Linked DNA regions of Homo sapiens: regions 2, 3, 4, 5, 6 and 7 are each linked to region 1. The links are contacts of gene promoters, found by promoter capture Hi-C in blood cells and fetal thymus (Javierre and others, 2016). All regions are on one chromosome and are shown on one strand. Each heading gives the region's core, a stretch centred on a gene start or on the middle of the fragment in contact. The rest is flanking DNA. Distances are from core to core; before and after follow the strand shown.

Region 1 (3,174 bases), core at 323-2,822:
TTAAAGATATGGGCAAAATTTTAAAGTAACACCATTCTTTTAACTAATTTTTTGAAAATAGTTATTTTTAATTAAAATGCGCTATTTGACATTTTTATTTTTATTCATTATTATTTTAAAAAATAGCAATTTTTAAATTTCTGTTTTAATATTAATAGCTGTAACCAACATAAAGAAAAGTTCTTGGGGCTCTCAATAATTTTACAAGTGGAAAGCGGTCTTGAGACCAAAAGATTGAGACCGCTGGTTTATTCAGGCAGATCTTATTCCTTTCCCGGGGTTGCTGAGGTCAGAGCTAAACTTCCCAGAGCTCAACTAAGCTTGGTTCAAACCTTTTAAAAATGTAACTGTTAATGGTAACGCCACCTGGGCTCAACAGCAGCTAGACGGGCCTCTGATTGCTTGGCCAAAGGAAAAGAGGAGGATTTCGTTGGGCCCTGAAGTTGTCACCGTGGCGTGCTTCTTCTGGCCCTGATCTTTCATCCAGGATTGGGGATACGTGCATGCAAACTGGGAGGTGGACATTCCTCCCGCTCTTGTTTTTCAGTGTTAGCATCTTCACTCATACTGTTTTGGTTTCAAAGTGCTCTCAGGAGTCTCCTTAAAACACCAAACCTGTTTTTCGCCTTTTGAATAAATCCCTTGGCTTCACCAAAACTAAACAAAACAAAAATCAAAGAACATCTTTGTGTAACCTATATGCCTGTGATTTCTCCATCTGATCTCCTTTCTCTGGCCTCTTTTCTTTTCTTCCCCAGTGAATTTTAGGCTGCCATGAAACCAGGGAGGAGACAGCCTGACCCTGGCCACGGGTGCAGCAGGCATACATTTTCATCGCACATACTTTGTCGAGTGGGTGTAAGACATTTTTGCATAAACTGAGTTCACGAATGCTATTTCTTAGTCTTTCCTTTGCCCGCGGTCTTCTGCCCAGATCCATTTCTTCGCCCTAATTTTACATATAACTTTCTCCCGGCTGGATTGTTTGCATCCACGACTCCCGACGCTTGAACCTCCCGTTCCTTGGACCTGACCTAATTCTAGGTGCCCGCAGTTTATTTCTCCACTTTGGCAAACGCACGTGGCTCTCCTGGAAGCTTCACTTTTGCTGCTAGGCTGGGTGTTGGGGTTCAGTGGGGCTCGGAAAACGTGCTCTAAAGTAGCCACGACCCCGGTCCCTGCAGAGTCCCGGCCCCCACAGAGCCCCGGCCCCGGACGCTGCAGGCGTCAGAAGGGGGCGGGGAGCAGAAAACGGCCGGGTGAATCACTGGGCGTAACAGGTGCCGCAGCCGCAGCTGCGCCCGCAGCGCGCGCGGACCGCAGGGATAAGGTCTTCTTTTTCTCCGGGTTTTTTTGGAGGTAAGGAGGAGACTACCGAGGCCCCCACCCGACCAATGCAGGCCACGGTTGTTCATCGCCTAGCAACTGGCGGAGCCAATGGGAGGCGGCGGGGCCTGCGGCGCCGGCGCGCGGGGGCGGGGTGGGAACCTCGGAAACCTGCGGAGGCCGGGAGGCGGCTGCAAGGGGCGGGGAAGGCGGGAGCCCGCAGCGGAGGAGGGGCCGCGGGCGGGAGGCGCTGCGAGGCGCTGCTGGCCCTCGGGCTGCGGGAGCCGGGCTAGGACGCCGAGCGGTGACTCCCCGCCGCTCCCGGGGGCCGTGACGGTGAGCAGCAGCGCCTCGCGTCGGGGATTGTGACGCGCCCCGCCAGGGAGGGGCGGGCGGGGGTGGGCGCCGGCAAGGGGCGGGCGCGCGCGGAGGTGAGAGCCGGCACCTGGCTCAGCGCCCCGTTGTTCGGCGGGAGGCTCCGCGCGGCTGTTGGGGCCGTTGCAGGGTGCGGGCGAGCGTCGACCCGGGCCGCTCCTGGAGGAGGAGGTGGGAGGTAGGTGCTGGCCCCGGGACCGCTCTCGCTGGCGTTCGCGGAGCTGCGCCTGCGGAGCGCTCTGACCCGGGGAGCCCCAAACCCTCTCTGGGATGGAGCAAGGTTGGCGCCCGGCGTTGGGGGACGAGCAGCGCGGGGACGTGGGGGAGGAGGGGATGGCCGATTTGGGGCTGCAGAGTCTCAGCAGCGGCCGTGGGGCATGCGGGGTTTGGCGATTTGCTAGTGCAGCCGCAAGAGGCAGTCTTTAAAACGAGTTATTGGGTGGCCGCTGCAGTGGAAGAGAACCCCGATAGTGGTCTAGTAAAAAGTCTAGGGGAAGAATTTACATCATCCAAGAGGCAGGCATGTGTGAAAATACTTTGGTTTATAATTTTATCATGAAAATACTTTGGTTTAGAATTTTATAGTCAACGACAGTAAACTGAATTGTGAGCTCCCTGCACATTTTTTGAGCCTATGCTGATTGCCCAGTTAGGCATATCGCTTGGGCCCAGGACATAGAATATACTAATTTGCTGTCTGCACGTATAATGTAGGAATTTTTAGATTATTACCCAGTTTCAGGACCCATAGTTGTAAATGCCAAACTGCGATTACTAGCAACGCTGATAAAGTTCTTGAATCTGAGAGAATTGAGATTTCTCTTTTCTGGACGCTGTAATAGGTTGAGGATTAGAAAAGAAGGTGATTTAGAAGTGTAAGGGTGGAGGCTTCTTGAACTTCCTGGGCTTTCTAACAATTCAGATTAGAGTCAAGGTGTAGAGTTAGCTGTGGGTGATGGATGTCATGGACCTTTTCATGGTTCATGGGGGTTTGGCTTACTGTGGGGTAGAAGAAAATTCTGGTGATCCTACAGTTTGATCCTGAACTAGAAAGGTTGGTATGAGTTGACTCATTTAGGAGAGTGAATAAAATTTGTAAAGAATTAGAAATTTGGAGAGGAAAGAAATGCCTTTAAAGTTCACGTCAAGCTATTTTGAAATTTAGAAGTTAGAGGTAGATTTATGAATTTGGATCCAGTCGGCAAAACTTGATCCATCAGATCTCTTATCCTAAAACTATCAACCTACAGGCTTAGGAAGCTTAGGTTATTCATTCACACTAAACAAGTAAGGAAAGCTAATAGCTAATTTAACACTCTGTTCTGCCTGCTGTTAATGAAGGTTTCTCAAACAAAACGGTTCTTTGAGAAGAGGGTTAGGAACTGATAATTAAAACGAAGGCTCTTTTAGTGACTGGCTGAACCTCTTAGGCCAAGTCATTTTGTACTCTTCCTTCCCTTCTCTTTCCCCAAC
Region 2 (3,174 bases), core at 498-2,997, 800 kb after region 1:
TTCTTGCCTGCCTGGTCTGTGCTTTCTTAAAATTATTAAGTGAGTATTTGGCTAAAAGTACAGTCATTGTCTCCCCATCTGTATAGCCTTCTAAACAAACTATTCCTTACTCCGTGGCCATAAAGGAGGGGGTGCCTAGGCAACCTTGTTTTTACACAGTGATCCCACTCTCCTCCCAAATACCATTTGACTAGAAATGAATCTGAATCTAAGAAGAGATAATGGGGTTCTCTCTAGGCTTTTGCTGCTGGCATCTGGAAAATCTAAATTGTGAGGCAGTGCTGGATGTAGTTAAGAGCGTAGGTCTGGATACAATGAGCTGGGTAATCTTGGGCAAGTTACTTATCTGCTTTGTGCCTGAGTTTTCTCATCCATAAAATGGGGATCCAAAATGTTTTCACGACCAAAAAAATTTTCATAACCCCTAGGCAGCAAAACCTAACCTACCTGAATTCATTTGGTGACAATGACCTGACAAGAAGTTATGTATTGATTTTGTCTATCTCTTGGTTTGAATATTTACATTTTTTTCCTGCAGAATTAATAATATGTATGATTATGGAATCTAAGCTTGAGATTTTTGGAAAGGGACTGTGGACCAATAGTATCTACCTCATGTTTTTGTTTTGAGGACTAAATGAGTTAATATATGTAAAAGTGCTTAGAACAGTGCTTGGCACATGGTAAGTTCTCTCAATGATTTTTTACCTTGTCTACATAGGTGTGACTTTCTTGCAAGGAATGACTTACTAAGACAGGAACCTACTAAATGATAGACCTTGTCTTAAGCCTTGGGGACCTGGTAACTTTATTATCAAGATGGGCACAGTTTACTCCCTTTATATGCATAACAGTCTCCATTAATTAAACAGGAAATTAAAATAAAATAAGGTGCTTGCTAATAAAGGAAGAACTGGGCATTAAGATATCAAACAATAGTTCAGTGGCAGGTAAAGTTTTCCTTAGAAGTGGCATTTGAAGTGAAACATAGAAGTTTATCAGATGAAGAGATAGGAGAAGACTGTTTCAGGCAGAGGAAGGAGCTTATGTGAAGACTCAGAGGAGAGTTGAAGGATTTGGGTTCCTGTTCCCTCAGTCTGTTGTTCCATGCCCTCCAAATTATAGGGGTGGGTCTCCGAGGACCAAAGCTTGCCTTCTTGCGGAGGCTCCTTGAAAACTGAAAGCAAAGAGAAGCAAAGAGGAATGCGTGTTCCCAGTGGTTTGCTCTGGACAGGAAGGAGAATGTGCCTAGTTTGCCCAGACCATGTCAGTCTCACCAATCTGGGAAATTGCTTCTTAGGTAGAGGTGCCTGATGGGGTGCCATGATGCCTGCAGATTTTTCCATCTCCATATTGAAGAAAACATTAGGAATGGAGCAGAAGCATTCCCCATCCCTAACTCCCCGGCTCCATTCTGAAGGTGCTGCTTTTAGTCATGTATGGGCTAGAATATGGTACTGTCATGCTATTAAAATTCCCTCTAAATTAAGAAAATATATGCAGAGTAGTGGTCAAAAGAATCTCCTCTAAGTAATGTGCCTAGCACAGTGTTTTGCATAGAGCAGGCGGATGATACATGTTAGTTGCCCTTGAAGTGTATTTAAAAAGAAATGAATGAATACTCCATGGTCTCAAATCCTTTATCATTTTAAAGTTGAATAATCATTTTATAATATAATGTGAAAACTGATGAACTTAAGGTAACGTTAAAATTGCCAGTATCAATAACATTTTTCAATTTCAGTTATTTTTATATAACTCATATTTATCCTTGAGACTAATACATGGGTTATCTTGGCTACTTTTTTATTCTTTCCTTTCTGCATTATGACTTTTGGCCTATTATTACTTACTAATATATTGACAGAAAGTAGAAAGGAAAAGTGAGAAGAAAAATGATTTAAATTTATCATTTACAGTTAGTGTTGATTCTTATATCACATTAGTCATGAGCACTGCTTTCTACACTAAAAAATATAAAGAGTTAAACTAATAGCTTAAATTAAAATTGTAAAAACTAAAAGGCATGAATTAATGCCTTGATACTCATATTTCAATATTGTTGTGAAGTTTTAAGATATTCCTCTTTATAATGAAGCATTTGTTACCTGTAATGAGCCTTTTCATGAGGTTTTTCACACACTACTTTATTACAGATTGTGTTTTCCCTCCTCATCCCCTGCCCCTTCCCCTAGGACACACCCTGACCTACAGTAGGATTTGTATTACTGCCCCCATCACAGTGCAGGAAGCTGGAACAGGAAAGGAAGGAATGCTGCTGCTCACACAGTTCCCTGTGAGAAGCTGTAGTTCCTAGTCTTCTATAAATATCACCTTGAAAGCTTTTTACTAAATTTATTTTTAAACAAATGTTTAAATTTGCCTTGATCAGAGATAACAAACATCATTTCTTTAAATATTGCTGTTTTAAAGAGAAATCATTCTTTCATCTGCTTCCAATTCTTCATGTTTATGTCTGTTGAGAGAAATGTCTTTAGTCTTTATGTTTGAAAGTCTTTTTCCCTTTTCATCTTCCACTTTCATTTGTATAGGCAGTTGCCATAATTATAGAGCTAGATAAAACAAAAAGTGAAAAATCCACTTTGATGAATGGAGATCAGAATATTAGTATTTGGTGTTCATTTTTTTTTCTTTTTGTTTTTTTACAAAAGAATTTTGTTGGAAATACCTACATTGCATAAGTATCAAGTACATGTGAATTAGACAAAACAGTTTTTTGGGGTTTACAAATTTTTTAGGACCTCTAGGATTTCAGTGGTCCAGATTAATCATAGTCCTTATTTCATTATACTCTTTCATGATTGGTTTGTGCATGGCCTGCTTTTATTTAGTATTATTTAGTGTTTTTAAGTTTATTATACCACCTGTGAACCCAACACGCAAATCAAAAGCTAGGTTCTTGGAAATAACGTATATAACCAAATGATTCCCTTCCATCCCCCTGGCTCCCCATTTCCCAGGTAGTTATTATATTCTTGAACTCAGTGTTCACTAATCTCATCTCTCCTCTCCTCTCCTCTCCCCTCCCCTCCCCTCTCTTTTTTCTCTTTCTTTCTTTTATTCTTTTCTTTCTTTCTTTCTTTCTTTCTCTTTTTCTTTCTTTTTTCTTTTTCCTTCTTTCTCTTTCTCTCTTTTTGCTCTTTTCTTTATATA
Region 3 (3,174 bases), core at 302-2,801, 770 kb after region 1:
AATAGATTTTGGCTATGTATTAATTATAATGCCAGATTTTAGTGAAAGTTTCAAGAGAATTTGCTGTGACCCTTTAATATTTCTCCTTTTTTCTGAGCAATCTTCACTAAATAATTTCAGGAATCCTTGCTCTGCATTATTTTGTGGAGATTAATCAACTTGGAAAAATTCTAGAGTCCATTAGTGGTTGTAATTTTAATTAGAATATTTTTTGAAGGAAGAAGATATTTTGGATCTTCTGGAGCAATGTGAAATTGATGATGAAAAGTTGATGGGAAAAACTACCAAGACTCGAGGACCAAAGGTGCAGTATATCTCTACCTTCCTTACTTATCAAAGTAGATGCTACTAGCCCTTGATACTTCTCACTATAAGAAAGACTGGTGCTGCTTTAAAAAAGGAACCACAGGGACTGTGTGCCCAGTGCAGGTAAAGTTTGGAAGATGATGATACCTTACACTCAGGAGTTTGTTTTGTTTTATTAGTTTCATTCGTCATTTTGGTTATTTTCCTGATGACAGTGAAAAGACCATGAGTCAGGGCCAAAAGGGACCCAAGAGCTAGTACTCTTATTCTAAACTAAGTATTAAGTTTGCCTCATACCTCTAGACAGATAATTATCAAATAAATGGGTAACATTATAAATAAGGCAAATCATGAACTCTAGAGACCCTAATTAGAAGCCCTGTCTTTTGCTGACCTAACAACATTGATTTTGTTTTAGTTAAAATAGGTGTAATTCCTAGAAATAAGTAGAAAGCTGTCATGTAGATGACATCTACATGTTCTCCTTTTTTTTTTTTTTTTTGATAACAGGGTCTCACTCTCATCCAGGTTAAAGTCCAGTGGTATGTTCATACCTCACTGTAGCCTCACACTCCTGGGCTCAAGTGATCCTCCTGCCTCAGCCTCCTGAGTAGCTGGGATTACAGGCACATGCCACCATGCCTGGCTAATTAAAAAAAAATTCTTCTTTTTTTTAAAGAGATGGTGTCTCACTGTGTTGCCAAGGCTGGTCTTGAACCCCTGGTTTCAGGCGATCCTCCTGCCTTGGCCTACCAAAGTGCTGGGATTATAGGCATGAGCCACTGCATCCAGTGCTGTTCTTCTGATATATGTCAAAGTTCTTGCTAGTAGAGTAGGAAAGAGTTAAATTAGAAAAATCTTGGATTTTTTTTTCATTCTATTCCATTTATATTTCAGAATTACTATGCTATCTCTTTGTCCTTAGCCACTTTGTCTTCTATCATATTTTCTTTTTTTTAAAATTATACTTTAAGTTTTAGGGTACATGTGCACAACGTGCAGGTTTGTTACATATGTATACATGTGCCATGTTGGTGTGCTGCACCCATTAACTCGTCATTTACTATTAGGTATTTCTCCTAATGCTATCCCTCCCCCCTCCCCCACTCCACAACAGGCACCAGTGTGTGATGTTCCCCTTCCTGTGTCCATGTGTTCTCATTGTTCAATTCCCACCTATGAGTGAGAACATGCGGTGTTTGGTTTTTTGTCCTTGCAATAGTTTGCTGAGGATGATGGTTTCCAGCTTCATCCATGTCCCTACAAAGGACATGAACTCATCCTTTTTTATGGCTGCATAGTATTCCATGGTGTATATGTGCCACATTTTCTTAATCCAGTCTATCATTGTTGAACATTTGGGTTGGTTCCAAGTCTTTGCTATTGTGAATAGTGCTGCAATAAACATATGTGTGCATGTGTCTTTATAGCAGCATGATTTATAATCCTTTGGGGATATACCCAGTAATGGGATGGCTGGGTCAAATGGTATTTCTAGTTCTAGATCCCTGAGGAATCGCCACACTGACTTCCACAATGGTTGAACTAGTTTACAGTCCCACCAACAGTGTAAAAGTGTTCCTATTTCTCCACATCCTCTCCAGCACCTGTTATTTCCTGACTTTTTACTGATGGCCATTCTAACTGGTGTGAGATGGTATCTCATTGTGGTTTTGATTTGCATTTCTCTGATGGTCAGTGATGATGAGCATTTTTTCATGTGTCTTTTGACTGCATAAATGTCTTCTTTTGAGAAGTGTCTGTTCATATCCTTTGCCCACTTGTTGATGGAGTTGTTTTTTTTTCTTGTAAATTTGTTTGAGTTCATTGTAGATTCTGGATATTAGCCCTTTGTCAGATGAGTAGATTGCAAAAATTTTCTCCCATTCTGTAGGTTGCCTGTTCACTCTGATAGTAGTTTCTTTTGCTGTGCAGAAGCTCTTTAGTTTAATTAGATCCCATTTGTCAATTTTGGCTTTTGTTGCCATTGCTTTTGGTGTTTTAGACATGAAGTCCTTGCCCATGCCTATGTCCTGAATGGTATTGCCTAGGTTTTCTTCTAGGGTTTTTATGGTTTTAGGTCTAACATTTAAATCTTTAATCCATCTTGAATTAATTTTAGTATAAGGTGTAAGGAAGGGGTCCAGTTTCAGCTTTCTACATATGGCTAGCTAGTTTTCCCAGCACCATTTATTAAATAGGGAATCCTTTCCCCATTTCTTGTTTTTGTCAGGTTTGTCAAAGATCAGATAGTTGTAGACCTGCGGCATTATTTCTGAGGGCTCTGTTCTGTTCCATTGGTCTATATCTCTGTTTTGGTACCAGTACCATGCTGTTTTGGTTACTGTAGCCTTGTAGTATAGTTTGAAGTCAGGTAGTGTGATGCCTCCAGCTTTGTTCTATCGTATTTTCATGCTTTTCCATGCTTCTGAAATGTCTTCCTACTAAAAAAAAAAGTCATTGACTTGTTGTTTGAGGCTCCTTCCTATTTCAGCTGAACCGCTGTTGCTTGTGTGAAACCTTCCCTCATTTCCCCAGTTAGGCTTAGACCTTCCCTTCTTTCTTTCTCCTGCTGTTCCATAAATAACACTTTTATAGAGCAGTTGTGACAAGTAATTATTTGCATGTTTGCCTCAGTATGAGGTTGCAAGTTCCTGAGGGTAGCAAGTAGATTTTCATCTTTGTATTCTTAGAACCTAGCCAGTGTGTGACACACAGTAGGTTCTCAAAATCCATTAGTTCAATTTGTTAAATATATGCATAAGAACCTCATTGGCTAGTAGAAGAGCAGACAGGTAAATAAAAAACCAGGGAGTAATGTGGCAAGTACTATAATAAAGGGAGTGTAAAGTGCTACAGCCCCATAGA
Region 4 (3,174 bases), core at 245-2,744, 740 kb after region 1:
GGAAAATTGATTCCTTTTGTAAATAAATTCTGTTTCTTTATCTTAAAAATCATTTTGTGCTCACCGTCAAATTTTTTTCTGGTTTTTTTTTTTTTTGAACTAGATAGGAAAACAGGATTTTTGTGGGTAATTTTTACCTATTTGGTCTTTTTAAAAAAGTTATGAGTTTTCTTTTACTTTTTTTCTTATAATTTCATGTGTTGTTATAATTAGCTATTATTTGTTGCATTGTCATCGTGTGCTTACAGTAGAGGTTCTCAACCTTAGCTGCACTGGAATCACATGAAGAGCTTTAGAAATGCTGATGGTTGGGCCCCACTTAGTTCTGGGGTGTGGCCTGGACAGCAGGATTTTCAAAAGCTCCTCATTCAGGCAATTCTGCTTTGCAGCCAAGGTTGAGAAGCCATTGGCTTAAAGCATTTCAGAGGTAACTGAAACATGTTTTCTGCTTTTGGAAAGTAGGTAACTATGGTTTCAAATGAGTGGTGGGATAAATCCGTCATCTCAAATCTCTTGCTTAGAATAAAGCTGATTAGAATTGCCATGGTTGAATGAAGTCCTTGAGTTTGTTAAAGCACTTTGACTAAGGCATAAATGGAATTAAGTAAAGCGCATATATGCATAGTATAATTTTAAGAACTTTAAATTCCTGTATGCCTTGGGGAAGGGATAAAAGTTCTTGTTTTGAACTCTGTACAAATCAGCCATTTGACTTATTATTTAAGTCAAAAACTAACAAATTTGTTTTTAGAATCTAGTATAGTTAGGTGAAGCTTGTTTTTAAAGTCTTGTTGACTTTGTCACCTACTTTCAATGTAATAAGTATTCTGTTACTGTAAAGGGGATCTTTGTTTACTCCAGTAACAAGATGTTGGACAAAAAACTTGTAAACTCAAATAGTTACTTCCCTGAGGTTTCAGAGAGCCTCCAGAAAGAAACTGAACTAAACTTTACACTACTCCTTTCTTTTATTCTGAGAAGTGATCCAGTCTGTTTCCAGCTTGGCATTGGGAGCTGAGATCAGTTTAGAGATGTTTTACTGTGAATTCACTGTTTGAAGTATTGCAAATTCCCAGAATATGGCCATATCTTGCGGCATGTACTGCAGTAGGGTTGGAAACTTCTCATATGTCTATATATTATGTTAGCATGGGGTCTGAAAATAGGGGAGCTTAATGAATAGAATAATTAGAATTGGGTTTAAAGTCTAAGTTTTCTATTTCTAAGCCATGTTACCTTGATTTGTTTAACTTATCTAGCCTTAGTTTCTTTTTCTGGAAAATAGGGAGAAATGATACCTAAATTTAAAGTTTGTTAATGAAATAAAATATTTAAAATGCTTAATAAAATGCCTACCTACAGTTGGTCTGTAATAAATAAAAGTTCCCCGTTTTGATATTGAATTATACTAGACAATCATTTTAGTAAAAATGATACCTGAGAACAAATAAAACCCTAAATTTTCTTTAATATTGAAACATTAATAATAATGAATATTTGGAGTGATATAGGACTCACGTTTTATGTAGCTGAATGTTGGATGTTTCTGAATTTCTGATAAACTTGACAATCTAATAAAGGTGTTGATATTATACCTTTGCTTATCATAATAGGTTTTATTTTTCATTGTGTTTATAGATATTTTACAAGAACTGAAGGATTCTTACAATAAGGAGAAATTAGAAAGTTGATAGTACAGACTGAACAATATGGTATTGTTAGGGCATAAATGCCTACGTTCATATATTTACAATGAAAATACAAGCAAAGTGTACTATAGGCCATGTTGAGATGTAGCCAGATCAAATTAATTCATTGATTGTTGCATTCCTCTGTGTGCCTGAATAAAATCATCATAATAATGACCCCACCCATTTTCTGTCCTTCAAAACTGTTCTCATTTTTTAAGGCACAATTCAAGATGTGGTTTACTTTATTAAGTTGTCCCCCATAATCCTTTATATAGGAATCACTTCTCTGCATTCTGTCAACATGTGACCTCTACCCTGCCTGGCACTTTTCACTGTCTCATATTAAAAGCAGTGTTTCAGGCATTGGGTTGAAGGTTGTGTGGGTTTCTAAATAAGACACTCTGGCATTGACATTAGAAGAATCTTCATTTTAATCTCTGTGTTGTAATTTTCTTTGTAAAGATACACAAAATAATTTGTCCTTTCTAAGCTCAACTTATCTGTAAGATGGGGATAAAAGCTTCTACCTTACAGGTTTGTTGAAAGATTAAATGGTATAATATAAATGCCTAAGATAATAAGTGTTCAATAAATAGTAGTGAATATTGTTATTGCTGTTATTGTTTGTGTATAGTATATTATTTATTGAATATACATGTGACACGTGACTTAATAAAACTTCTTCCCCTAGACTATGCATTCTTTCAGGATAGGAAAGCATCACTTGGCATTTTGCGTAAGGTTTAATAAACCGATTTACAATTATTTGTTGATTGAACACATTAACTTTCACCTTGACTTTTAAAAAGAATAGTCTTGGCATATATGAAAAAAAATTCAAAAAAGTTTTTTCTAAATGACCTTGTTTTAAAATCACTGCAGGTACCTTGTTATCCCATAACTTTGGTATCCTGAAATCTGAGGATTCCACCAAGATAATATGATAAGAACTTTCAGTGATTTGGGGCCATATCCTACTTAGACTAATGTGGAATTTCCAGATTTCCTGAGAGCTTGGTACAGCAGCACACACTGCTTGCTAATCAGCACAGGCAATAATGCCATCTCTGCCTCAAGAAGGAGGTAGGGAAATTGACTTAACTATGTTACAAAATATGGAGGTGTTATACATCATTACTGTTAATATTTTTAAAGTATTAAAAATTAATTGGGGACTTTTTAAAGTACCAGGATTTGTAATTTTACCTTGGTGTGGGGTGGGGGTGGTATTTGTGTTGTCTGGTATAGATTTTTGTTTTCAGTGTTATCTGATTATTTTACATTTTTTTAAAGTTATTCAGGGACCCTCTCCCCTGGATTTGAATACAGAATTACCTTATCAAAGCACAATGAAAAGGAAAGTCAGAAAGAAGAAAAAGAAGGGAACCATTACAGCAAATGTTGCCGGGACAAAGTTTGAAATTGGTAGGTTTCCTTAGAAGCAATCATGGGATTCTCATAATTGCTGGAAAAACTGATTTGG
Region 5 (3,174 bases), core at 332-2,831, 690 kb after region 1:
TAAAATGTAGTTCTTATATAGTGGGAAACTGAATTAGTTTGTTGTTACCCTGCCGTTAAGAGTCAACAATTATATTGACCTTCTATGCTCCTTCTGTAAAAATAATGGATGCTAGGTCTTTCTTCGCCCGTTGATGGGTCCTTTGACTTGCTTTCATTAGCGACTTACAGATTTTTTCTTAAGAAATGCATCTCTTGTTTATGTCTCAAGAGGCAGGTTGCTATAGTACAGATGCTCATTATCTCTAAATACTCACATAGTATTGATGGTAGGCAGGAACAGAGTCATCTTAGTATGTCATTTCTAAAGTATTGAACCATTTGCATTGGAGAATTCTTTTTCAAGTTAACGGGGGTATTGATAAAGTCCACTGCCTAAATAAGGACATAAAATGGAGGCACAAATTTATATTTGTTGTTCAAACAAGAGTATGAGAAGTGGGGTCTTGTGAAGAGTCTTGAGTTTGATTCCTAAAAGTCATTTCATTTTGTTCTTTACATGGCTATAACCTATATCCTGAACCTTGGCAAGGCATCTTGTAATCCAATCTGTTTAATCCTAAGGGGGACAGCAGAACTGGCATGAATGAATAAGCAAAAATACAATACCACTGCTGTTAAAAAAAAAAAAAGGAAAGTGCATGTCCTGGTGATGGATGGTCAGCAGCAACATTTTAAAACAGAGACAGCACATTTTACTTAGATGACATCACTGAGAGTATGAATATAATACCAACTTGGCTTTAGAACTGCTCTCTCTCCTCTGTCCAATGACTACAGTCTGCAAACCATCTAAATTCCCCACTTCAAGGAACTTAAAGTCTAGCAGGGGAAATTTTACTTACACGTGAGTAATTAACAAATAACTTAGAATTGGCTTAATACCAGAAAAGGGTGGTGCAGACCTACTGCTATAGCGGTACCTTAAGAGAAAAGAGAAATAGTAGAGCCTTGGATGATCAGAGGATCAGGAAAGTCTTCATGGGTTGAAGTGAATTAAATCAGTCTCAGAGACTGGAAGGATTCTGATAGGCAAAGAGAAAGCCACATAAAGGTTCAGCTAAGAAGTGCTCATCTACTGTTTGGATACATGGTGAAAGATCATGAAGAAACTTGAATGTCAGACAGTGAGATCTGTTTCTGATCTGTTAATCATTTCTCTTTCTTACATTCTCCATATCTGTTGCCCCGAGTCCCCTTCCAGGAAATGGTCTGTTTCCTGGGTACTAAAAGGATTGTCAACTAAACTGAGAAAAAGTTTTCTGTGCAAGTACAATTTTTCCTCTTCCAAAGGAATTTGCCTTTTAGCTCCGGCCCCCATTAGATAATTATGAACAATTTGGAAAGTTTAAGAATATAAAAAGGAAAAAAACACCCTCATAATTTGACCAACTAAAGACAATCACTATTCATTTTTGACATGTTTCTTTCCACTTTTTTCATGCGTAGTTTTAATTATGGTATCTATATTACTTTTATATTATTTTTAAATTTAAAATTCTATAACTTTAGTTTTCATTTAATTACAACTGGCTTAATACTAGGTTTAAAATGCCTAATAGCAGGCTTAAAAATGACTACATAATTTTCCATTTGGTAGATGTATTATCATTGCCTAATTGTTCCTCATTGTCACTATTGATGACATCATAATAAACAATTATTGATGATAATAATAGCACTGTGATGAACATCTTTGTGCGTATGCTTTTTTTTGTATTTTGAATATTAGTTCCTTTGCATAGAGTCTCAGAAATAAAATTTCTGGGTTAAAGGGTATGAGGTCTTGAAGTTGCACTATTTTAAGCAAGTTTTGAAACTACTGAGTTCTTATATTAGGCCATTCTTGCATTGCTATAAATAAATACCTGAAACTAGGTAATTTATAAGAAAAGAGGTGTAATTGGCTCACAGTTCTGCAGGCTGTACTGGAAGCATGGCAGCATCTGCTTCTGGGGAGGCCTTAGGAAGCGTCCAATCATGTTGAAGGGGAAGGGGGAGCAGGCACGTCACATAGCAGAAAGCAGGAGCAAGAGAGAGAGTGAGGGGGTGGTGCCACACACTTTAAGTGACCAGATCTTGTGAGAACTCAGAGTGAGCGCTCACTTACCGCCAAAGGGATGCATTAAGCCATTCATGATGGATATGTCCCCAGGATTCAAATATTTCCCACCCCCACCTCCAACACTGGGGAATAAAATTCAACATGAGATTTGGATAGGGACCCATATCCAAACTGTATCAATTCCCAGTGTTCAATTTGGAATACTTACATGTTGATTATAGAATATTTGCATATTAATAATTCATAACACCCAATCTTGTCTGTGGCTCCTCAGATTATAGTCTTTCAAGCAACTTCTTTTGATTAGACTAAAGACTGATTAAATCATGGAGACTGGGAGAAAGGCAGGCAGTTGGTGTTACTGAGGAGAGAAGATACTAAGTTGGAGAACAGGCTTGGTGAGAGTGAGTAAGAGTTGATAGTCAGAGAAGGAGAATATGTGATAGACTACTTTCTGGTTCCAGTGTTGTATTTGTGGACTTCAGCTGTAAACCTCTGCATTCCCTCACCCACAACACACATATCTATCTCCTTCAAATTTCAGTTTATTCTATCCTCTTATATCAGATTCCCAGGTCTCCAGCTTCAGGGTCCTGATATTGCAAGGCACAGCTGTGAGCTCACTTTTGCACTCTAATTTGGGGAATTCACAAAGGTGAGAGCAGGAATTTGGGACCTCTGCTTAGGTCTGAGCAGAAGTCCTGGGCACAAGGTATAAGGTGTAAGGGAGGGACAGTTGACAGACATTAAAGACCTCTCCTGCCTCCCCTGTACATTTGCCAGAGATGACCTTTGAGAACAGTGATTGTCAGATGCATAAAGTTCCCAACATCTCTTCTCAGCATTCAGATGCTCCCCCTCCCCTTGTTCCCAGTATCCTTCCACCAGAGGAAATTCCCCTCATGCAGGAGAGAGACTGTGCTTCAGTTTCCTCTATTCATTGTAGGGATACTTGGCACTACCTTCTTGCAATGAGAAGGGCAGGGGCCCAGTGTTGGACGGGTCCTTTGGGCTCCTGACTTGCTCCTCCAGGTTCTCACCTGAGCTTCCTCACTGTCCTACCTCCACTCTCTTTCAAGGCTGGGAATCCATTGAGGTAGGCAGGCCATT
Region 6 (3,174 bases), core at 256-2,755, 620 kb after region 1:
TATGTAAAAATGCTCAACATCACTAATTACCAGGGAAATGCAAATCAAAACCACAATGCAATACCACCTTACCCCTCCTGCAAGAATGGCCATAATCAAAAAATAAAAAGAAATAGATGTTGGCATGGATATGGTGAAAGGGAACACTTTTACACTATTGGTGGGAATGTAAACTAAAACAACCACTATGGAAAACAGTGTGGAGATTCCTTCAAGAACTAAAAGTAGATCTACTGTTTGATCCAACAATTCCACTACTAGGTATCTACCCAGAGGAAAAGAAATAATTATATGAAAAAGATACTTGCACTTGCATGTTTATAGCAGCACAATTTACAATTGCAAAACTATGGAATCACCCCAGAAGCGCATCAATCAACAAGTGGATAAAGAAAATGTGGGATATATATACCATGAAATACTACTCAGCCATAAAAAGGAATGAAATAATGGCATTTGCAGCAACCTGGATGGAATTGGAGACTATTATTCCAAGTGAAGTAACTCAGGAATAGAAAACCAAACATCATTTGTTCTCACTCATAAGTGGGAGCTAAGCCATGAGGACACAAATGCATAAGAATGATACATTGGACTTTGGGGAGTAGGGGGAAAGGGTGGGAGAGGGTGAGGGATAAAAGACTACACATTGGGGGCTGGGCATGGTGGCTCATGCCTGTCATCCCAGCACTTTGGGAGGCCAAGGTGGGCGGATCACGAGGTCAGGAGATCAAGACCATCCTGGCCAACATAGTGAAACTCCATCTCTACTAAAAATACAAAAATTGGCCGGGCGTGGTGGCATGTGCCTGTAATCCCAGCTACTCAGGAAGCTGAAGCAGGAGAATAGCTTGAACCAGGGAGTCGGAGGTTTCAGTGAGCCAAGATCGTGCCACAGCATTCCAGCCTGGCAACAGAGTGAGACTCCGTCTCAAAAAAACAAAAACAAAACAAAACAAAAAAACACTACACATTTCGTACAGTGTACACTGCTCGGGTGATGGATGCACCAAAATCTCAGAAATCACCACTAAAGAACTTATTCATGCAACCAAACACCACCTGCTCCCTGCAAACTTATTGAAATAAAAGTAAATTTAAAAATATACATGAGTTGTGAATTTAGTATAAAGATGAGAGTCAAAACCACAACTATGAATGAAATAGAAAATATAGAGAAAAAAGGCAGCTAAGAATAGATAGCTATGGAACAGAGAAGAAATGGAGTCTGGTATAGTAGGAGCCTGTAGTGATCAGACAAGTTCGGAGAGAACAAGGAAACAGTCATAAAAGTCAAGAAAGAAAGAGGAATATTAATTTGACTGACTGAATGCTAGAAATGGACTCTAACTAATATAAGCAAAACAAATTTATTGGACGAATATATAGCTGCATATAGAAGGGAATGCAAAAACTAAAGAACCAGGCTTGGCACACTCAGGAACTAGGCAGCTCCAAAGAGTTGAAATAGCAGTTGCTGCCTGACATTTTCCCCTAATGTAGCCAACGGAATGCAAACAAAAACAAAGGCTATTCAGTTTTGTTCCTTTTTCCACAATTCACTTTTTAAGGAAACAGTTCAATTGGCCTACCTTGGTTTACATTTCTGCTTCTTACCCAGAGCAAGGCAAATGATTAGCAGTCCCATGGGACTCATCAGTGGTAGAGCAGAAATTTTTCATTACCAAAGAAGATGGAGTAGAAGTTGAACACTTAGGAAAAAAAAATAAACATAAACAAAAAATACACACAACAATGTCCACTACAGAGGATTTATTTAACAGTGTTAGTAAAGAAAATATTTCTTCTCAGTAGAGCTGTTTGGAGTATCCCTTTCCCCCTAAAAAACATGTGGTGAGCTTTATTATGAAGTCGTAGACATTTTGGATTAAACATACTAGAAATATTCTGTCAACCTGATGTGGTAGGCAGAATTATGCCTCTCCCAAAGATGTCCATGTCCTAATTCCTACAGTTTGTGAATATGGTACCTTGCATGAAAAAGGAAAATTAAATTTTTTCTAATTAGTTCATGTGAAAATAGGGAGATTATCCTGGACTATCCCTGTGCACCCACTGTAATCACAAAGGTCCTTAAAAGTGGAAGAGAGAGGCTGAAGAGGAAGTAAGAGTGATGAGCTGTAAGAAGCACTCAATGCCATTGCTGGCTTTGAAGATGGAGGAAGGGGGCCAATAATTGTGGAATATGGGCAGCCTCTAGGAGGTAGAAAGAACAGGGAAACCAATTCTCCTCTAGTCTCCAGAAAGGAACACAACCCTTCTCACATCTTGATTTTAGCCCAGTGAGACCTGTGTTAGGCTTCTAACCTTCTGAACTATAAGACGATTTTGTGTTGTTTTAAGCCACAAACTTTATAGTAATTTGTTACAGCAGCAGTAGAAAATGAATGCTCTCCACTCCATTTTGAAAATAGAGAAAACAGAGAGTTAGGTTAAGTGGATTTGTTAAATCGTCTGAGAAAAAAACAGGACTGAAACCAAGGCTCTAGATTCCCAAGCCAGTGTTTCACTGAACTTCACACAGATGTGTTAGAGGGTCTTACCACTATAACTCATGATTATTTGGAAACACAGAAAGGATAAAGAAGGAAACTCAAGTTTAATTTCTTTTAAAAATTATGTTAAATAATTATTCAGGGTCTAATTAAAGAGAATGAATTCAAATATAATTTCTTAGTTTTTCTGACCTATAAGTTGAAGTTGCTATTTAAATACTATCTGTTGGATATGGCAGAACCACTGCAGAACATTAAGGTGATTTTTACTTTTTTATTTCCAAACATTTTATTATATACTACTTATAACCACATGTATTCTCTAAGAAACAATGACTCTTGCTAAATAAAAGCCATTTGTTTTATCAGTAACTATGCAAGTGTAGGAGTGGCTAGAGAGCTGAAATGGTCTGTTTAATTAAAGGAGAATTCAAAATTAAGAGTAATCTGGAAAGAAGGGAGATAGAAAGGGAAAATTAGTAAGATTGAAGGAGTCAGGAGCAGCTATTGCAGATAAAGGATCTAACAATTGATTCTGAGTTGTTTCCTATGTATCACTTAAGGTAGCCCCCAAATCTTCAATTAAAGTTTTGCTACAAGCAACGGCCCATCTTTGTGGTTACTCTGAAGGAAATGATAAAGTATAAAGGGCATTTTC
Region 7 (3,174 bases), core at 430-2,929, 600 kb after region 1:
AGGTCATGTGTAGGTGCTTCAGCTGACAGTCCCAGGTAAGGTTCAAATTACCTGTACAGCCAGCATCAACAGGGAAACATGTAAATGAGCAAGGCTTCATGTGTTTCTAGTCCCCATAAACCATAGCAGTGATTTATTAGCAGAGCTAAGATAGCTGATGTCATATAGAGTGCATAGCTGAGCTCTGCCCAAATTACTTACTTTCATAAGTAAAATAAATGTTGTCACTCTTTAAGCTGCTAAATTTAGGAGTCCTGCATGATGGAACAATAGATAAATATAACAGACAACTCCTCTATTATAACAGAATAAGATGGTCAAGTTAAAATACAGTAGGTGTGAACATTTAATAGGAAGAAGTTAAAGGGGTTCCTGTCTGATAGCTTTTATTTTCCTTGTAAAATATGACATAATATCATGACTTAGAATGAGAGAGATAATGGAGAAGTCAGAGGTATAAAGAGAGAGAAATGAAATAGAACTTGTGAAGAATGAGAGACAGAGTTGATCAGAGAAATGTGGTAAAACTGTAAAGTCATGTTGACAGCTCATTTGAGGTTGATGATAGTAAATTTCTAGTGTTCTTCTGTGCAGCTTTCTCTAGCAGTGCTTAGCTCTTGACTGAAAGCACTGAGAAAGCACATAGCTGAGTTTATCATGAGTTACATTTTTGTTAGAGAGATTTGATAAAGAGGCAGATGTGCAAAGGAATTTTGGGACCAAGTAATCTAGAATGGTTAAGAAGAAAAAATGAAAGTGAGAGGACTGATGGATAAATGGATGAGAGGTTCTGATGAAGAATGATCATAATGGGAATATTTAAAAAGCAAGCAAAAAGGAGAGGAAATTGTGATCAAAGAATCACACACATTGGTGATTCTTGAGCAGTTAATGAATATTACAAGGTCTTTGGCAAGACTAGACATCTGAATGAACAAAAGGGGAATAGGAGATAACATGGTCAAAGAACAGAGGTGCAGTGATGATAGATGAGTCATTAACATAGAATTTGAAACCATCCAGGATGAATGCAGAGCTTAGAGTATAGAGAAACATTGTGGGCCAGATGCCAAAATATTTGATGAATAAGAAGTAAGCAAGAGACTGGTAAATGACAGCAACAAGGATGAGAAACACAGTGGCACAGTTGAATGATACATGCCTTGAATAACAAATTTTTCAAAAGGTTGGGAGCATAATACTCTAGTTTTTCCTAGTCCAGTGTCTTCTTCCTACCTGCCTGAGACCAATCTCCCCATACCAACTGTGATATAATTTTGATATGTAAATGTCAAAGAAGTTACTATATACCATAAAAAGGGGGGAAAGAGGTACCCTCTTATCACATTAATCAACTATTATCCCCAAATAGTCAATACATTACTGACAAAGTTCCTGCCAATGGAGGAAAGGGAGGAGGATGTACGCTTCTACAGGAGGTTTGAATTTTTGATCCATTTAACTATCCATGATTTTAGCTTCCACCATGACATGAGCCAAGAACTGTGCCACATTCCAGAGATTAAAACACTAAACAACATAGACACTGCTTTGCCAGATCACACTGTAGTGGGTATAAGAGTTGAAAAAGCAATGTAGTACAAGTGCTACAATTATAGATGTAAATATTTCCAAAATGGACTCAAAGGAAGTTTCCATTTCAGTCAGTTTCAGTCTATTTCCCAAGATGATCTCAGAAATTCTATACTACTCCTCTATAAACTCCTATGCTACATTTTCACCCTAGTATTAATCTCAGGCACCTATGTATCATTGTATGCCTTACTATAAATATCTGTATCTGTCTCCCAATTTAAGGACAGGAACCAAGTCTTATTTTTATTTGCATCTACAGACTAGCATAGTGCCTGGTTTAAAGTAGGCGCTCAATAAGTACTGATTAAGAATGAATGAAAGACAAATAAGTGAATGTTTTGCCTGTCATTCTATGAATTGAACTATGGCTTATTCATGACCTAAAGACTACAGCCTAAAGTGAGGCTCATATTCTTCCACAGTTTAACCTGTCATGGCTCCTACTCAGAGGGAGCTGAGCTAAGATTGAAAGAGCTAAGTTACCAGTAGAGCTAGCCCCTGTAAAAGAAGTAATATCTATACCAACATGTTCTCTCAAGTTTGTGGCTCACATATAACAATGGCCTGCTGATGCTATATGGTCATCTACTTAAGAAGAATACAGTATAGAAATGGAATATTCATTTTACTAAACAGGACTCTAAACTAATATGATCACAAGAATAGTCTCTTTAATTTTCTAAGGACAAAGTCCAGATCGAGAAAACAGGCTTGTCAGAGACCTAAAGGTTTAGATTCCACAGTTATCTTACAACAAAACAAGTTTCAGATGTCCCTGAAAAGTTAACATATGAATAGAAGACAACAGTGAATATAACATTAAACTATGGCCATAGAGCCTGGGACTTTATACCTTGTTACATCAGGCCAGATAAAAAATATGGCATCTACATTGGATTTTCGAAGGCAGAACTAATACCAATTATGCTAGTGTATCAATTTAACTTATAAGAATCCCGAATTTGATTCGGAAAATTTTCTGCATAGATACATAGCATTACTGAATCTAATTCACATTACAAAAAAACACGTCCTATAATCCACTTCCTACAACATTCTCATAATTGTGCTTTTACTTGTCTAAATCTTTTACCAGACTATAAGCTACATGAAGACAACTCTTTACTCCCTATTTCACTGGCTAGGGAATAAAAATGAACTAAATGAATAAATTAATTATAGCCAATTAAAATAAAGAAATCCACTAAAAGCAATTTAAGCTATACCACCATATCGGGGAAACAATTTATTTGCATAATAGTAGTAAACCTTAGTATTAGCAAGAAGAAGACTTATCTTATAAATACTGATGATTCTTTTGGAAAGTGCTGGGGGCTAGAGAGATTATAAAACCTATCAAGAGTAAAAAAACAAGCCTCGATGGTACACACCTGCAGTCCCAGCTACGCAGGACTGCCTGAGCCCAGGAGTTTGAGTCCAGCCTGGGCAACACAGTAAAACTCTGTTTCAAAATAAATAAATAAAAATAAAAAATTATTTTAAAGAGTAAAAAAGCATTATCTAGCTTTTGAAATTGCTAAAAATACTACCTGAATTTGTAAACACATGTTTCACCTT

What was found. Contacts are between HindIII fragments. The CHiCAGO score rates a contact against its expected background, and 5 or more counts as called.
Region 2: a contact is called between a fragment that was not itself captured here and the fragment with the promoter of SSX2IP in region 1, in 1 of 17 cell types (endothelial precursors). The highest score is 5.3, in endothelial precursors.
Region 3: a contact is called between a fragment that was not itself captured here and the fragment with the promoter of SSX2IP in region 1, in 2 of 17 cell types (M1 macrophages and erythroblasts). The highest score is 5.6, in M1 macrophages.
Region 4: a fragment that was not itself captured here is called in contact with the fragment with the promoter of SSX2IP in region 1 in 2 of 17 cell types (M2 macrophages and total B cells); the score reaches 7.7 in M2 macrophages.
Region 5: a fragment that was not itself captured here is called in contact with the fragment with the promoter of SSX2IP in region 1 in 1 of 17 cell types (total B cells); the score reaches 6.0 in total B cells.
Region 6: a fragment that was not itself captured here is called in contact with the fragment with the promoter of SSX2IP in region 1 in 3 of 17 cell types (total B cells, naive B cells and erythroblasts); the score reaches 6.7 in total B cells.
Region 7: a fragment that was not itself captured here is called in contact with the fragment with the promoter of SSX2IP in region 1 in 8 of 17 cell types (naive B cells, non-activated CD4 T cells, total B cells and 5 more); the score reaches 10.4 in naive B cells.

Annotation. Positions count from the first base shown.
Region 1 is chr1:84,688,859-84,692,032 of GRCh38, reverse strand. It overlaps SSX2IP (SSX family member 2 interacting protein), which reads left to right and starts at 1,572. Exons shown (of 14, transcript NM_001166293.2): 1 at 1,572-1,662. RefSeq lists a silencer at 1,361-2,120. The HindIII fragment of the contact is 1,864 bases long and covers 1,100-2,963 here.
Region 2 is chr1:83,892,865-83,896,038 of GRCh38, reverse strand. The region is part of intron 18 of TTLL7 (tubulin tyrosine ligase like 7); the gene reads left to right. Among named protein-coding and RNA genes, the nearest start is that of LINC01725, 33 kb to the right of the region's middle. The HindIII fragment of the contact is 1,194 bases long and covers 1,151-2,344 here.
Region 3 is chr1:83,914,734-83,917,907 of GRCh38, reverse strand. TTLL7 (tubulin tyrosine ligase like 7) reads left to right here. Exons shown (of 21, transcript NM_024686.6): 14 at 218-304. Among named protein-coding and RNA genes, the nearest start is that of LINC01725, 55 kb to the right of the region's middle. The HindIII fragment of the contact is 4,769 bases long and covers 1-3,174 here.
Region 4 is chr1:83,951,787-83,954,960 of GRCh38, reverse strand. TTLL7 (tubulin tyrosine ligase like 7) reads left to right here. Exons shown (of 21, transcript NM_024686.6): 2 at 2,574-2,774; 3 at 2,985-3,116. The coding sequence starts at 2,750. Among named protein-coding and RNA genes, the nearest start is that of TTLL7-IT1, 31 kb to the left of the region's middle. The HindIII fragment of the contact is 1,438 bases long and covers 776-2,213 here.
Region 5 is chr1:83,994,325-83,997,498 of GRCh38, reverse strand. The region is part of intron 1 of TTLL7 (tubulin tyrosine ligase like 7); the gene reads left to right. Among named protein-coding and RNA genes, the nearest start is that of TTLL7, 3.2 kb to the left of the region's middle. The HindIII fragment of the contact is 4,005 bases long and covers 1-3,174 here.
Region 6 is chr1:84,066,038-84,069,211 of GRCh38, reverse strand. No RefSeq gene overlaps it. Among named protein-coding and RNA genes, the nearest start is that of TTLL7, 68 kb to the right of the region's middle. The HindIII fragment of the contact is 3,970 bases long and covers 1-3,174 here.
Region 7 is chr1:84,087,472-84,090,645 of GRCh38, reverse strand. It overlaps a transcript of PRKACB not described here. Among named protein-coding and RNA genes, the nearest start is that of PRKACB, 55 kb to the left of the region's middle. The HindIII fragment of the contact is 8,490 bases long and covers 1-3,174 here.